Regions from separate parts of the Homo sapiens genome. Here region 1 is linked to region 2. Evidence: promoter capture Hi-C in 16 types of primary human blood cells and fetal thymus (Javierre and others, 2016). All regions are on one chromosome and are shown on one strand. The core of a region is centred on a gene start or on the middle of the fragment in contact, and the rest is flanking DNA. Distances in the headings are between cores, read along the strand shown. Region 1 overlaps PDCL (phosducin like). Region 2 holds the start of STRBP (spermatid perinuclear RNA binding protein).

Evidence for each region. Contacts are between HindIII fragments. The CHiCAGO score rates a contact against its expected background, and 5 or more counts as called.
Region 1: a contact is called between a fragment that was not itself captured here and the fragment with the promoter of STRBP in region 2, in 1 of 17 cell types (naive CD4 T cells). The highest score is 5.0, in naive CD4 T cells.

What each region holds. Positions count from the first base shown.
Region 1 is chr9:122,813,560-122,821,083 of GRCh38, forward strand. It overlaps PDCL (phosducin like), which reads right to left. Exons shown (of 4, transcript NM_005388.5): 4 at 4,538-7,077. The coding sequence ends at 6,526. Among named protein-coding and RNA genes, the nearest start is that of PDCL, 11 kb to the right of the region's middle. The HindIII fragment of the contact is 404 bases long and covers 2,813-3,216 here.
Region 2 is chr9:123,265,408-123,273,034 of GRCh38, forward strand. STRBP (spermatid perinuclear RNA binding protein) reads right to left here and starts at 3,179. Exons shown (of 19, transcript NM_018387.5): 1 at 3,029-3,179. RefSeq lists silencers at 2,905-2,954, 3,125-3,604 and an enhancer at 3,005-3,505. The HindIII fragment of the contact is 5,570 bases long and covers 1-4,450 here.

The DNA of each region.
Region 1 (7,524 bases), core at 1,765-4,264, 450 kb before region 2:
CTGAGGTGGGAGGATGGCTTGAGCCAAGGAGGTGGAAATTACAGTGAGCCAAGCTCACACCACTGCACTTCAGCCTGGGCAACAGAGCCAGACCCTGCCTCAAAAACAAATCACTGATATGAGAAACAAGAACAAAGGCAAGGGGACTATACTAGCTTAAGAGACTAAAGTCACAAAAATGAAATGTGTGAACTTGATTGCGTCCTGAATTTTTTTCAAAGAATATTAAAGAAATTTTGGGAACAAATAGAGAAAATTGATATGAACTGTGTTTTAGATATTGTTGAATTACTGTTTATTCTCTTGAGTGTAACAATGGTATTTTGGTTATACAGGATCAAGACCCTTTTCTTAGGAGAGTCAGTGAAGTATTTAGGAGCAAAGTCAAGATGTCTGCAAACTTACATCTCAATAGTTCCGCCAGGCGCAGTGGCTCACGCCTGTAATCCCAGCACTTTGGGAGGCTGAGGCGGGCGGATAACGAGGTCAGGAGATCAAGACCATCCTGGCTAACACGGTGAAACCCTGTCTCTACTAAAAATACAAAAAATTAGCCGGGTGTGGTGGTGGGTGCCTGTAGTCCCAGCTACTTGGGAGGCTGAGGCAGGAGAATGGCGTGAACCCAGAAGGTGGAGCTTGCAGTGAGTCGAGATCGCGCCACTGCACTCCAGCCTGGGTGACGGTGAGACTCCGTCTCAAAAAAAAAAAAAAAGTTCCACAGAAAACAGAGATAAACAAATGCAGCAAAATATCAACTTTTGATGAAGCCACGTGAAAGATATACAGATGTTAATGGTAATATTCTTTTCAGTTTCCTATAGGTTTCAACGTTTTCCAAATAAAAGATTAATAATTAACTAATACAATGTGAGAGTCTGAAGCATCTGACGAAATCATCTAGCCAGATGCGTGGCTCACACCTGTAATCCCAGAACTTTGGGAGGCTGAGGCAGGAGGATCGCTTGAGCCCAGGAGTTTGAGACCAGCTTGGGCAACAAAGTGAGACACTCCACTCTACAAAAAATAAAAAATTAGCCAGGCACAGTGGCATGCACCTGTAGTCCCAGCTACTCGGCAGACGGAGGCAAGAGGATCCCTTGAGCCCAACGGTTCAAGATTACAATGAGCTGTGATTGCGCCACTACACTCCAGCCTGGGTAACAGAGCAAGACCCTGTCCCGAGGGGGAGGAAAAAAAAAAAAAGATCATCTAGTTCAACTCCTCACTTTACAAATGGGGAAATGAGGCCCAGGAGAGGAAGAGATGTATCTGAGGGCACTTAACTAGTTACTGAAAGAGCCAGAGTCCACATTAACTATTCTCCCTATTGCTGTCACTTGTAGTGGGACACGGGTGGCAGTGTGTGGAGGAAGGAGCCTAAGAGATGGATTTTGGGAGGGAGGACTCTCTTGAGTCATGGTAGGAAGGAGATGCCCCTCAACAGGGGCACATTGTGGGTCACTGCCACAGCTGAGACAGGAGGAGATTCTGGCCTGAAACACAGGCAGAATTGAGAGACCCAAGGCTCCATCAGCTCAACTCCTTTTCGCTCTTTGAATTCTCTTCTTGGCCGGTCGCGGTGGCTCACACCTGCAATCCCAACACTTTGGGAGGCCGAGGCAGCCAGATCACCTGAGGTCGGGAGTTCGAGACCATCCTGGCCAACATGGTAAAAACCTGTCTCTACTAAAAATAAAAAAATTAGCCTGGTATGGTGGCACGTACCCGTAGTCCCAGCTACTCAGGAGGCTGAGGCAGGAGAATCGCTTGAACCCGGGAGGCAGAGGTTGCAGTGAGTTGAGATCACGCCACTGCACTCCTGCCTGGGCGACAGAGCTAGGCTCTGACTCAAAAAAATAAATAAAAATAATGAAATAAATAAATGAGTAAAAATAAATTATCTTCTTTATTTCCTTCCTCTATTCTCTCCACTGTCTTTCAATGTTTCTATTTTATTGTCACTTGATCAGTTTGCTTTCTCCATCAAGAATATGACATCAGGAAAATAGTACAAATGTTGGAACTTCACAAACCTGATTTTAATCCTGCCCTGCCCACTAGCTGTATAAGTTGAAATGTCACTTAACTCTGCTAAGTCTTGGTTTCTACACCTTTGAACAGTTACTACTTCCTACTTTGAAAAGATGTGCCATTCAATGAGTCAATGTGTTCATTCTTAAATGTTTATTCATCTTTTGCCAAGTGCCAAGCACAGTGTGGGCACTAGACCAATAAAAACACTTCTGTGTGTTCCAGGTACTTTATATTAATTGACTCATGTTACTATCAGCATTTCACAGATGAGGAAACTGAGGCATGGAGGGATTCAGCATCTTGCTTCCAAAGGTAGTATCAGGCTGTGCCTAGAGACCAAGCCCTTACTCTATGCCAGTGGTCCCCAACCTTTTTGGCACCAGGGAACGGTTTCCTGGAAAACAATTTTTCCACAGACTGGGGTTGGGTGGGGGGAGTTTCAGGATGATTCAAGCGCATTGCATTTATCGTACACTTTATTTCTATTATTATTACATTGCAATACATAACAATTATACAACTCACCAAAATGTAGAATCAGTGGGAGCCCTGAGCTTGTTTTCCTACAACTAGACGGTCCCATCTGAGGGTGACGGGGAACAGTGACAGATCGGCAGGTGCTGGATTCTCATAAGCAGCGGACAACCTACATCCCTCGCGTGGGCAGTTCACAATAGGGTTCGCACTCCTATGAGAATCTAATGCCACCGCTGATCTAACAGGAGGTGGGGCTCAGGCAGTAACGGAAGCAATGGGAAGCGGCTGTAAAAACAGATGAAGCTTAGCTTGCTGGCCCGCCGCTCACTTCCTGCTGTGCAGCCTGGTTCCTAACAGGCCACAGAACGATACTGATCTGTGGCCCAGGGGTTGGGGACCGCTGCTCTATGCCATACATGAGGAAGAAAACAAAGTCCGTGCCTTCCTGAGACTTTCATTCCAAACGTGAAATCTGGAAGACTCTGGGACAGTTTGTGATAGACAAATGGTTCCTCTTTCCTTCCCCCAATTCCATGGCTAAAAGGGAGAATCACAAAATAAAACAGGAGAGAGGCAATCTGAGAGCTACCCCATTTCAACTCCCTCCCTCTTTTAATAAGGAAACCAAGAGCAGTGAGCACTTGTTCTGTCACAGGTGCACTCACTCACCTTAATCCATAGGTCAGTGACTCTCAAACTTGAACAAGCTTCAGAATCACCTACAGGGCTCATGAAAATAGTTTGCCTAGTCATTCCCAGAATTCCTGATTCAGGAGGTCTAGGGTGAAGCCCGAGAATTTGCATTTCTGACAAGTTCCCAGGTGATGCTGAGGCCGCCACTGCTGCTGGTGCTGCCCCAGCTACCACACATGAGAACCACCGTCACAGAACAACTCCACAAAACAGGTTATTTTTGTTCCCATTTTACAGATGAGGAAACTGAGCATCAGGAAAGGTAGGTTTCTTACCAGAAAGAAGCTACACCACTAGACTGCCAGACAGGATTTGAACCCAGATCTGCCTGACTCTAAAGCCCATGCTGCTTCCACGACACCAAAGTTAAGAGATCTAACATTCTCGGCCCGATGCGATGGCTCATGCCTGTAATCCCAGCACTTTGGGAGGCCGAGGCAGGTGATCACCTGAGGTCAGGAGTTCGAGACCAGCCTGGCTAACATGGTGAAACCCCATCTCTACTAAAAATACAAAAATTAGCCAGGCATGGTGGCAGGCACCTGTAATCCCAGCTACTCAGGAGGCTGAGGCAGGAGAATCGTTTGAATCCAGGAGGCGGAGGTTGCAGTAACCTGAGATTGTGCCACTGTACTCCAGCCTGGGCAACAGAGTGAGACACCATCTCCAAAAAAAAAAGTCTAGGATTTCTCCATTACCATTACATGTCTACTCTTTTTTTTAATTTTTTTTTTTTTTTTTTTTTTTGAGACAGGGTCTCTGTCGCCCAGGTTGGAGTGCAATCATGGTTCACTGCAGCCTTGACCTCCCAGGCTCAAGAGATCCTCCTGACTAAGCCTCCCAAGTAGCTGGGACTAGAGGTACAACACCGTGCCCAGCTAATTTTTTCTATTTTTTGTAGAGATGAGGCCTCACTATGTCTGCCTCAGCCTCCCAAAGTGCTGGAATTACAGGCATGAACCACCACACCCAGCCCTACTGTATTTTAGAACTTCTGTTCTTGAAAAGCAAAGTCAAGTTCCCTGTAAGTGCATAATATATTCTCATTTTCAATGAGAACAGAAGATGGTTTGTAAAAGCTATTTTTAAGTGTCCCTATTTGCCCAGTAATTCCTCTTCTAGAAATCTATGAGAATAATTCAAAATATAGCCCAAAACACAAAGGCATTAAGTGTTCAGCAAAACACTGAGAATCTAAATAACCAATATAAAGAGATTGGTTAGGCCGTGCAGCGTGCTCACGCCTGTAATCCCGGCACTTTAGGAGGCCGAGGCGGGCAGATTACCTGAGGTCAGGAGCTTGAGACCAGTCTGGCCAACATGGTGAAACCCCGTCTCTAGTAAAAATACAAAAATTAGCCAGGCGTGATGGCATGTGCCTGTAGTCCCAGCTACTCAGGAGGCTGAGGCAGGAGAACTGCTTGAACCCAGGAGGTGGAGGTTGCAGTGAGCCGAGATCACGCTATTGTACTCCAGCCTGGGTGACAGAGCGAGACTCCATCTCAAAGAAAACAAACAAAATAAATAAATAAAAATAAAGAGACTGGTTAAATAAATTATTATATATCCAAATGATGAAATATTATGAAGCCACTGAAAATTATTTATTTAGAATGTTTGAAACATCAAAGTATTTATGATACAACACTAAATAAGGAAGAGCACAGAACTAAATTCAGTAAGTACTCAATGTTTATAAAAATATTGAAAAAAGACTGAAAGGAAATAAGCTAGACTAACAATACTTCCCTGCTTCTAATAATTTTCAATACATTCCACCCTTTCTACTACAACGAGCTTTCTTAGTCAAAAAAAAAAAAAATGCACTCTGTTTGTTGACTAAATACTTTCAAGACTCTTTTACAGTTAGTCAATTCCTGAAAAGCCAGGAAAATCAAAATTGTGAATTTTAAGGCTAATATTTAATTCCAGATTACATTTCCCCTGACCCTAGAATATACATTTTTAAAGTTAAAAAAAGGAAAAAAACGCAAATGATAATTATTATAAATACATAGAAAAAAAGGCTATAAAAATGACTAGAAATATGACAAAAGGGATTAATTTTGGTTGGTGGAATTATATGGCTTTTAAGTCTTAACAGTGTTTATTACATTTTCTACAATGAACATCTATCACTTTTGTAATTTAAAAAAAGTATTTGCTATCTTTCTTTTTAAGAGACAACCATCAAGCAAATTATATCACATCTATACGATGGAATATTAATAGACATTTTTAAAAAGTTGTAGAATATTTAATAATATAAAAAAAGGTCTGATATATTATTAGCTGACCATACTATAGAACAGTATGTTCAGAATGATCCCATCGTTTTGTTTAAAAACAAACAAAATATCCATGTATACACAGAAAACACCTTGGCAGGAAACAGACCAAAATATTAATAGTGTTTTATTCTAGGTAGTAGGATTAGAGATTATTTTAATTTTCTTATTTTTGCTTCTGTTTTGGTCAGTTTTCCTCTACTGAATATGAATTACTTTTCCAATATGAAAAAAAAAAAAAGTTTTAAAAAAAATCTAGGTTAAACAAAAAGTTACCTTGTTAAACAAAAAGTTACCTTGTTAAACAAAAAAGAGACAAAGACAAGCAGGGGCATCTTACTGAAAGAACTTCCTTTACAAAGATTTCCAGCCCCACTCCAGCTCTAATGTTTAAATCCATAAACTACTTGTCTTCTAACATCACCAGGTCAGTAAGCATCAACCCTTCCTGCTGTTCCAGACTTAGTCATGCTGGAGGAAGACATGAAATCCAGCAGCAGAGGCCACCCCTCAGGACTGGGTGCGGTGGCTCACCCCTTTAAACAAGACCCTGGTGGGGAAAAAAAAAATCTAACCACCGTCTAAAGCTATGGAACTGATTACAAGTAAATATAATTTACAATCATTTGATTAAGAAAATGCACTATTTACGTTGCAAATAACACAATACCTACAGAATTATACTCTCAGACTTGGCAGAGACCTCTAAGATCATCTGAAGACAATTTCCAAGACCCTGTCTTTAGGATGCTTTGTAAATATTGACTGGAAACAATAACAGAGATGTCACACCACAGAATCTTAAGTAAACAGTTCAAAAGCCTGGCTTCCTGTTTATACAACTGTAAGTCACCTTATTGCTAGCTACAAGGTTATTCAGCATTCTGATTTAATCTAAGAATTTCTTTATTTTATGCATAATAAAAGGGACTACAAAGAACAGCTGAAAAGCCAGAAGACAAAGGAACAAAAATAAACAATGACGTGTATTCCAACCCAAACAATGAGAAATCTATGCAACTAGACTATCAGTTCAATCTATTTCCAGGTCGCTATCCTCACTGTGACACGTGGCAGAGTTACGCACAGATGTCAGCACCAAGACTTCCTTTTCTGGGAGTAATCCAAATTCCTGGAGAAAAGCTTCAAGGTCCACAGCAAAGAAATCATCCCCCAGCTGGTCAGTAACACGAACAAAATTGCCGATCAATTCACCCCCCTTATAGATCAGCAGGGCAGGAAGGGCATTCCTGGTGAACTGACTGCTGGCGCCAATAACTGAGCTCTTCACCTTGCAGAACTTGACAGCTGGGTACTCTGCGGCAAGGCAGATCATGCAACCATTCATGGCTTCGGTCCCTGGAATGCCATCCTCATAAATATGAACCATGATGACAATGCTTTTCTGTTCTTTATCAATCATGTCTAAAAACCCTTCTCCACTGGAGATCTCAAAAACCTGCTTGAATTGGGGCCCCTTGTGAAGCTGCTGCCGCATCTCTTCCATTCGCTGCTTCCGGTACTGCTGCAGAAACTCTTCATCATCTTGGTCCTCATTCATTATGGCAAACTCCTTCAGAGTCATCTGCAGGCGGACCAGCAAGTGAGCATAAATATGAAAACTGAACACTCGTGATAACAGTTAATATGGGCCGGGCGCGGTGGCTCACGCCTGTAATCCTAGCACTTTGGGAGGCTGAGACGAGCGGATCACTTGAGGTCAGGAGTTCAAGACCAGCCTGGCCAACATGGCAAAGCCTCATCTCTCCTTAAAAAAAAAAAAAAAAAAAAAAGTTAGCAGGGCATGGTGGTGTGCACCTGTGGTCCCAGCTACACTGGAGGCTGAGGCACAACAAGAATCACTTGAACCTGGGAGGCAGAGGTTGCAGTTAGCCAAGATCACACCAGTGCACTCCAGCCTGGGAGACAGGGTGATACCCTGTCTCCAAAAAAATAAAAAGAAATAAAACAGTTAACATGTACTACATGCTGATAATATATAAGGCACCATGCTAAGTACTTTACATGCATT
Region 2 (7,627 bases), core at 1,929-4,428:
TCATACTAGGTACCACACTACACATTACGTGAAGCCCACAGAGTGATAATTGAAGTTATTTCTGCAACATGATGAAATTTATTTCTTAGCAAAATCTGACAAGACTTAATTTTCAACTGTCAAAAGGGAAATCGTTTTCCAAGATTCTAGGAAACCTTGCTTACTGAAGCAGTCTCAAAGTAGTTTGCTTAATCCTTTCAAACCCCTAAGAATCTAACACAAGCCACAGAACAGTGAATGAGACTTGCACTGAAATAAATGTCTGTGTTCAAACCCCTAAAGGTTACTTCCCATGTGTTTGGCAAGCTGAAGGCCATATGTCCGCCCAACCCATAAGTGTCTTTCCTCAATAAAGCTAACATTACACTTCCCAACTCAAATCAAAATACCAGAGAATCCAAAAGCCTCCAACTAAATTTTACCTGAACCATTTGGGAGAAAAAGTCAACAATCCAGATCAGTTATTCACGCCTTGAAAGAGTGTTAAGAGTCAGAAAGCTCCAATTCTGCCACTTTTAGGAGCTAGGTGTACATTACTTCTGTCTGCCTATAGCATGGGACTCAGATATTACATCACCCCATGCTGCCTGAATACTGACCCATTACCCAGAAAGCACCAGGGTATCTGAGACACTGCACCAAGGTATCCCTTTCTTCCTCTCTTATGCATAGCCCTTGAATGCTACTGGCCACTGGGCCTGGTCTCTTCCAGTTTCACAAAGACATCTGCCCTGCACCTGCTGCAATCCCATTTCCATTCACTCTTGGTGCGCTCCTCGTGACCCTGTGTGGCCCTTCTGTCCACTCGTCAAACCAATATGCTAGGATGATACCCACTACACACCTCTCCCAAATTTGGGGATGTGCACTCAGCTCTCCCTTACCCCTTCCCCCTTCCTCATTTACTGGGTTCTGGAATTAAAAGCAGGCTCAACGATCTCTCTGACCCTAGGAGTATGAACTTTCAGATATGACACTGAGTTTAATGTCCTCCACTTTCCATTAACATCATTCCAGGATCCAGGTCCCCCCACCCCTCAATCTCCAGTTTCTCTCAGTATGGAATTTAATCCTCTCCATTTAGTTATTTTTCCAACTTCTGCACTCTGCCTGATCTTCCTTAGACTCTCAGTGACCTAAAAATCTTGGCCCCTTTCATCTCTCAAACTCAAAGTGTTCCAATCTCTCCCCATACTTCCACTCCTTGGATCTTCCATACTCTCTTAAGCAACCTGTGTTCCTAGCTCTCTCCAACTTAAGCAGTCATTTCCTGCCCTAAACCTGGGCATCCTATTTCCCCCACCACCACCACCACCACTCCAATCCATCACCTATGCCTTTCTAGTTACAGACATGTCCACATACACCTCTGCCTTGCCCTTCCCTTACTCCACTATAGGTATTAAGCATTCTTCTACATCCTCTACCCCAAAATAGCCTGTCTACCTTCCTTCTTTCTCCCTACCTCCCTTCTCCCTACAGCACAAAATTCAGTGCCCCAAACCTGTGCTTCCCTCCCTCCACCTACTGTACTCCAGACCTGTCCACCTTCCCCTCCAGTCTATCCCGTTGTCCCCCTCTACTGATTTCGTTCTCACCCTCCCCTCCACCTTCCTCCTCCCCAACCGCTCCACACTTCCCGCCTCAGAAATCTTTCCTTCCATTTGTCCCCACACTTTACCTGCCACTCCAAGAACACTTCCCTTTCCCCACCCCCTTTTGCCCTCCACCTCACACACTCCACGCCACCCCACACCTGTCCCTCTCCCCCAGCTCCTGCCCCTAACGTCCTCCAACACTTGCCAAGAACCCCTCACCCTCCGTCCTACCTCAAAATTCCCTCTCTTGCTGATCCCACCTTCTTCCATACTTCCTGCATAAACACCCTCCATTTCACGCACTTCTCCCGCTATCCTTTAAATGCCCCACACACCTCCTGCTCTCCATCCCCATCACCCTTCTCCTACTGTCCCCACCTCTCTCTGCAAGCCCTCAAACTAAGTCTCTGCCCCAATGAACTTCCCCCTTCCACCCCATACTCCTCTTCCCTGAGCACCAGATACCTGCCTTTTTATCCTTACATGTCAACCCCCTCCCGCCTCCCTGCAGGCTCCCCTATACACCTGGCCACACACTCCCTCACACCCCTCGCAGGTCTCCTGGAGCCCCTGGGCCTACCCTTCATTTCCCTATCACCCCAGAAGCCTAGGCACCCTGCTCCCCTCCCTCCCTTTCAGGCGCTCCCTGCCTGCCCTCACTTCCCCCTGCCCCGACCCCCTCCTCCATCGTTCCCCTTCACGGGCGTCCCGGTGGCCTTCCTAATACCCGCCCCACTCCCTGCCCCTGGCACGCAGCGCTCCTTCCAGTCCTGCTCGAGTCCCCAGTCTTCTCCCTCCATTCCCACCCCACTCGTCCCTGCCCTCCCCAAAAGCCCCCTCATTCCCTCTTGAACCCCACAATATAGTGCCCCCCCCCACCGGACGGAATGTCCTCCATCTCGCACTCGCCTGGCCCAGGGGGCCCCCCAAACCTGCCTGAAGGCTCTCCTCCTCCATTGGGCCGGATCCCTCTGCACCCCTATTTACCCCCAAATCTGCCCACACCTTCCGCCTGCCCCCCGAAGCCTCTCCCCAGCTCCTGCCCCCAATGTCCTCCAACACCTGCCCCGAGCCCCGAGCCCTCCGTCCCGGAAGACCTCCCGGCACCGCGTCCCCCAACCCTGCCCACGCCCTCCCCTGATCGGCCGGGACCCCGTCCCCGCGAAGGTGAGGAAGGCTGCCCGCTGCCCTTGCCCGAAGCGGCCGGGGCACCGCAGCGGCGGCGGCGGCGGCCACAATGCCGGAGCCGCGGGGCCGGGATTGCTCCCTGCTCTCCGCCTCGGCCGCCACCGCCGCCGCCGCTGCTAAGGACGCACAACAAACAATGCGGGGCCCGGGCCGGCTCCGCCAACCGCCTCAACCGCCGCCTTAACCGCCGCCCGCCCGGGACGGCCCGCCGCGCAGGCGCCCGCCCCGCCGCCGGAGCCTACCCGCGCCGCCGCGCTCTGCCCGCGCCCGGTACCCGCTCCCGCTCCGCCGCCGCCGCCACCTCGCCCGCTCGCGTCTCCGGCTCCTCTGCCCAGCGGCGGCGGCTGCGGCGGCTGCTGCCCTGGTGGCGCTCGCGGCTCCGGTCTCCGCTTCGGCGGCGGCAGCGGCGGCAGCGAGCACGTGACACCGTCGAGCGCGCCCATTGGCCAGGCCAGGGGGCGGGCCCCGCGGCTGCTGGGGAACGGAAAGCCCGCCCCCTCGTTCGCCGCGCGCCCCCTCCACGCGCGTCCTGCCGCACCTGAGAGCGCCGGCCAGCGCCCGCCGCCGCCTTGCTGTGCCGCCGCCTGCGCCAAGTGCGCACCTGGGAGCGCGCAGGGAGCACTCGCCGCCGGCGGCCTTATGCACCTGCCAGCGGACGCTTACGTAAACTGCGTCCCCGCCTTCCTCCCGGCCCCAGGCCCCCGCTCGCTGCAGCACCTGAGCCCCGCTGCGCTAGCGGCGTAACTGCGGCGGAGCGGAGACGAGCTGCGCTGGGAGGCTAGCGAAATGCACGGAAACTTCGTAACTTCCGAACCTGGGAGCTGCGCCGAGCCGCGGCGGCTAGCCGCCTTCCCCGGGCCCCGCACCCCAGTGCGGGATGCCCCCCAACCCCAGCAGCCACACAAATGGAGTAGGCGTCGCACTGCCTCCCGAGGTAGAGGGGCAGGCCAGTAGGCTTTGACTTGTGCCACCGCCCACCTACTTGCTGGCTGTGTGACCTTGGCCAAGTTACCAAGAACCGTTCTGAGCCTCAGTTTCCTCATCAGGAAAACTGGGACAATAATTCCAATTTAGGAGCTGTTGGGGAGATGGCATAAGACAATAGGTGTGAATCCTGGCACACAGCAGTCGCTGAACAGAAGCTGCTACAATCACCTCTCCTTCACCTGCCTATAATGAACCTCGCTGGGATTGAGTTTGGGCCCAGGACCTCTCTGACCTCCTTATGGTTGGGTCAGACTTTGGCTGAACACCTACCAGCTCTGTGCCAGGGGCGGCGCTGGGGAAGAATTAAAGGTTCGCTTTCTATTCTACAGTCCCTGGCCTCAAGTTCTTGGTGCCCAGCATTCTGCTTGCCAGTATACAGTCCCTGCTGTATACCGGGGGGTTTGCAGGCTGCAGGGATGCACTGGCAAATGAGACAATGTCTTTGCCCTAAGACAATTCCCAGCCTGGAGCAGAAACGACCTGACCACTCAGTGCCAAGACAGAGGACCTTGAACAGCCCAGGGGTTGAGGAGGGACTCCCCACAACAGCCCCCTTGGGGCCCCTTTTCATCTTTCTAACACACCAGGCTCAAATATTTTAACAGCTCTGTTTCATTCACAGAATAAAGTGTAAAAAACCCAATTTCAACTGAAAAGGCCTTGGTGATCTGGCCTTAAGCTTCAAGGTGCACGCCCTTCCCTTTGCCCCTCCTTCAGGCCAATGTGACCCTCCAGCCACACAGAACTACAGTACTGTTGTTTCCAGAGTATGCCCAGGTGTGTAGGAGCCTGAGTCTCCTGAGACAGATGCCAGGCCGCAAATCCCTTTCTAAACCCTCTCCCCACCTCTGACCACTCACACCTTCCTTGACCCTCCTGAAAAAAATCCTGGGTATCCTTATCAATCAGCTCAGAGTATATTCTCTGGAGATCCTTGGCTGCCTCAGACACATGGTCTAAGCTCCCTCGGCTTGAACATAGTCCTGTTAAGCTATATGTATTCTCATGGCACTAGATTGTAATTGTTTAGCTGTCTGTCTCCTCCCTGGTCTCTCAGTCCCTTGAGGACAGGGTCATCTTCCTGCCTAAGTGTGTTAGGGAAGACTACACGTGCACATGACATGAGATCATTAAAGCTGGGTTTTGTAGGATGCCCATAAGTATCAGAGGGAGAAGAGGCGCCACACTGTAAAGATCCAGATTCACTGCACACTAGCTGTGTGATCTTGGAAAATCAATCTCTCTAGTCTAAGTTTACTCATCTGCCAAGTGAGACTAATAGTATTGCATATTGTAGGGTTGTTAGAAGGATTCATTGCAACCGTATATCTAAGGCACTCAGCACGGTGTCCAGCACTTGGTTACATTTTTAATTTTTTTAAAATAGAAGAACAGCATGGCATTAAGGATTCAATAGTATTTCTTGTTTCAATATCTTTATTGGGTTTGTAACTCCAAACACTGAGACAAAAGCATGCAAATTATATAAAAGGAAAGAAAGTAAAAAGTTAGGCCAGACGCAGTGGCTCACGCTGGTAATCCTAGCACTTTTGGGAGGCCGAGGCGTGTGGATCACCTGAGGTCAGGAGTTCAAGACCAGCCTGGCCAATGGGGCAAAACCCCATCTCTACTAAAAATACGAAAATTAGCCGGACGTGTTGGTGTGTACCTGTAATCCTAGCTACTCGGGAGGCTGAGGCAGGAGAATCGCTTGAACCCGGGGGGCAGAGGTTGCAATGAGCCGAGATCCCGTGATTGCACTCTAGCCTGGACAACAAGAGCGAAACTCCGTCTCAAAAAAAAAGTTAATGTCTCTCTCCCTTCCTGCCCTTGACTCCACTCCCACTACCCCAATCCCAACTCCAGAGTAGTTACTGTTAATTTTTCATGTCCCTCATTACATGTCCAAAGAAAAAAGAAAGTTGCAGAAAATTATTTATCTGTAATGTGTATGTTGGATTCTCCATAGAAAAACGTCAGAAAGGATTAAACACCAACCACTATTGGTTATGCCTGGAAGATAGAACTGGGTGTGGGGATGGAGGACTTAAAAATTTCTGCATTGTTTTAATTTTTTAAGGATACATATGCAGATTTTTGTTTTGCTTTGTTTTTGAGAGGGGTCTTGCTCTGTCGCCCAGGCTGTAGTGCAGTGGCGCAATCTTGGCTCACTGTAACCTCTGCCTCCTGGGTTCAAGTGATACTCTTGCCTCAGCTTCCTGAGTAGCTGAGATTACAGGCGCCTGCCACCATGCCTGGCTAATTTTTGTATTTTAGTAGAGATGAGGTTTCACCATGTTGGTCAGGCTAGTCTTGAACTCCTGACTTCAAATGATCTGCCCGCCTCGGCCTCCCAAAGTGTTGAGATTACAGGCGTGAACCACCGTGCCCAGCCTGTTTTGTTTTGAGACAGAGTCTCACTCTGTCACCCAGTCTGGAGTGCAGTGGCACAATCTCGCCTCACTGCAACCTCAGTCTCCCAGGTTCAAGCCATTCTCCTGCCTCAGCCTCCCAAGTAGCTGGGATTACAGGCGTGTGCCTCCACACCCGTCTAATTTTTTTTGTATTTTTAGTAGAGATGGGCCAGGCTGGTCTCGAACTCCTGGTCTCAAGTGATTCTCCCGCCTTGGCCTCCCAAAGTGCTGTGATTACAGGCGTGTAATCACACATAGATTTTTAACAATTTACTTGAGGTATAGTTTACACATAAAATTATGCATTTCAAAAATGTACAATCCAATGATTTTCAGTAACTTCACTAAGTGGTGCAACATTAACATAAGTCAGTTTCAGAACATTTAGCATACCTTGCCGGGCACGGTGGCTCAGCACTTTGGGAGGCCAAGGTGGGCAGATCACGAGGTCAGGAGATCGAGACCATCCTGACCACCATGGTGAAACCCCGTCTCTACTAAAAATACAAAAATTAGCTGGGCATGGTGGTGGACACCTGTAATCCCAGCTACTCAGGAGGCTGAGCCAGGAGAATGGCTTGAACCCAGGAGGCAGAGGTTACAGTGAGCCAAGATCATGGCACTGCACTCCAGCCTGGTGACAGAGGAAAACTCTGTCTAAAAAAAAAAGAACATTTAGCATACCTTATGGATCCCCCGTAAGACTCTCATGCTCATTAAGTGTTAATCCCATTTCCAACCCTGGCCACAAGCAAACACCAGTCTACTTTCTGTCTCTATTTTTTGTTTTTTCTGGTATATCTGATACTTCTTTTTTTTTAGACAGAGTTTTGTTCTGTCACCCAGGCTGGAGTGCAGTGGCGCAATCTCGGCTCACTGAAACCTCTGTCTCCCAGGTTCAAGCGATCCTCCCACCTCAGCCTCCTGAGCAGCTGGGACTACAGGCATGCCATTGTGCCAGGTTAACTTTTTGTATTTTTTTTAGTAGAGACTGGGTTTCATCATGTTGCCCAGGCTGGTCTCAAACTCTGGGCTCAAGGGATACTCCCTCCTCAGCCTCCTAAAGTGCTGCAACTACAGGTGTGAGCCTCTGCACAGGGCCTGATACATTTTTGTAAAAAAATCAAACAGACTGGTTGGGTGCCGGGGGCTCATGCCTGTAATACCAGCACTTTGGGAGGCCGAGGTGAGCGGATCGCCTGAGGTCAGGAGTTAGGGACCAGTCTGGCTAACATGGTGAAACCCCATCTCTACTAAAAATACAAAAATTAGCCGGGTGCAGTGGCACGTGCCTGTAGTCCCAGCTACTCAGGAGGCTGAGGCAGGAGAATCACTTGAACCCAGGAGGCGGAGGTTACAGTCAGCCAAGATGGTGCCACTGCACTCCAGCCTGGGAGACACAGCAAGACTCCGTCTCAAACAAACAAACAAATAAATAAA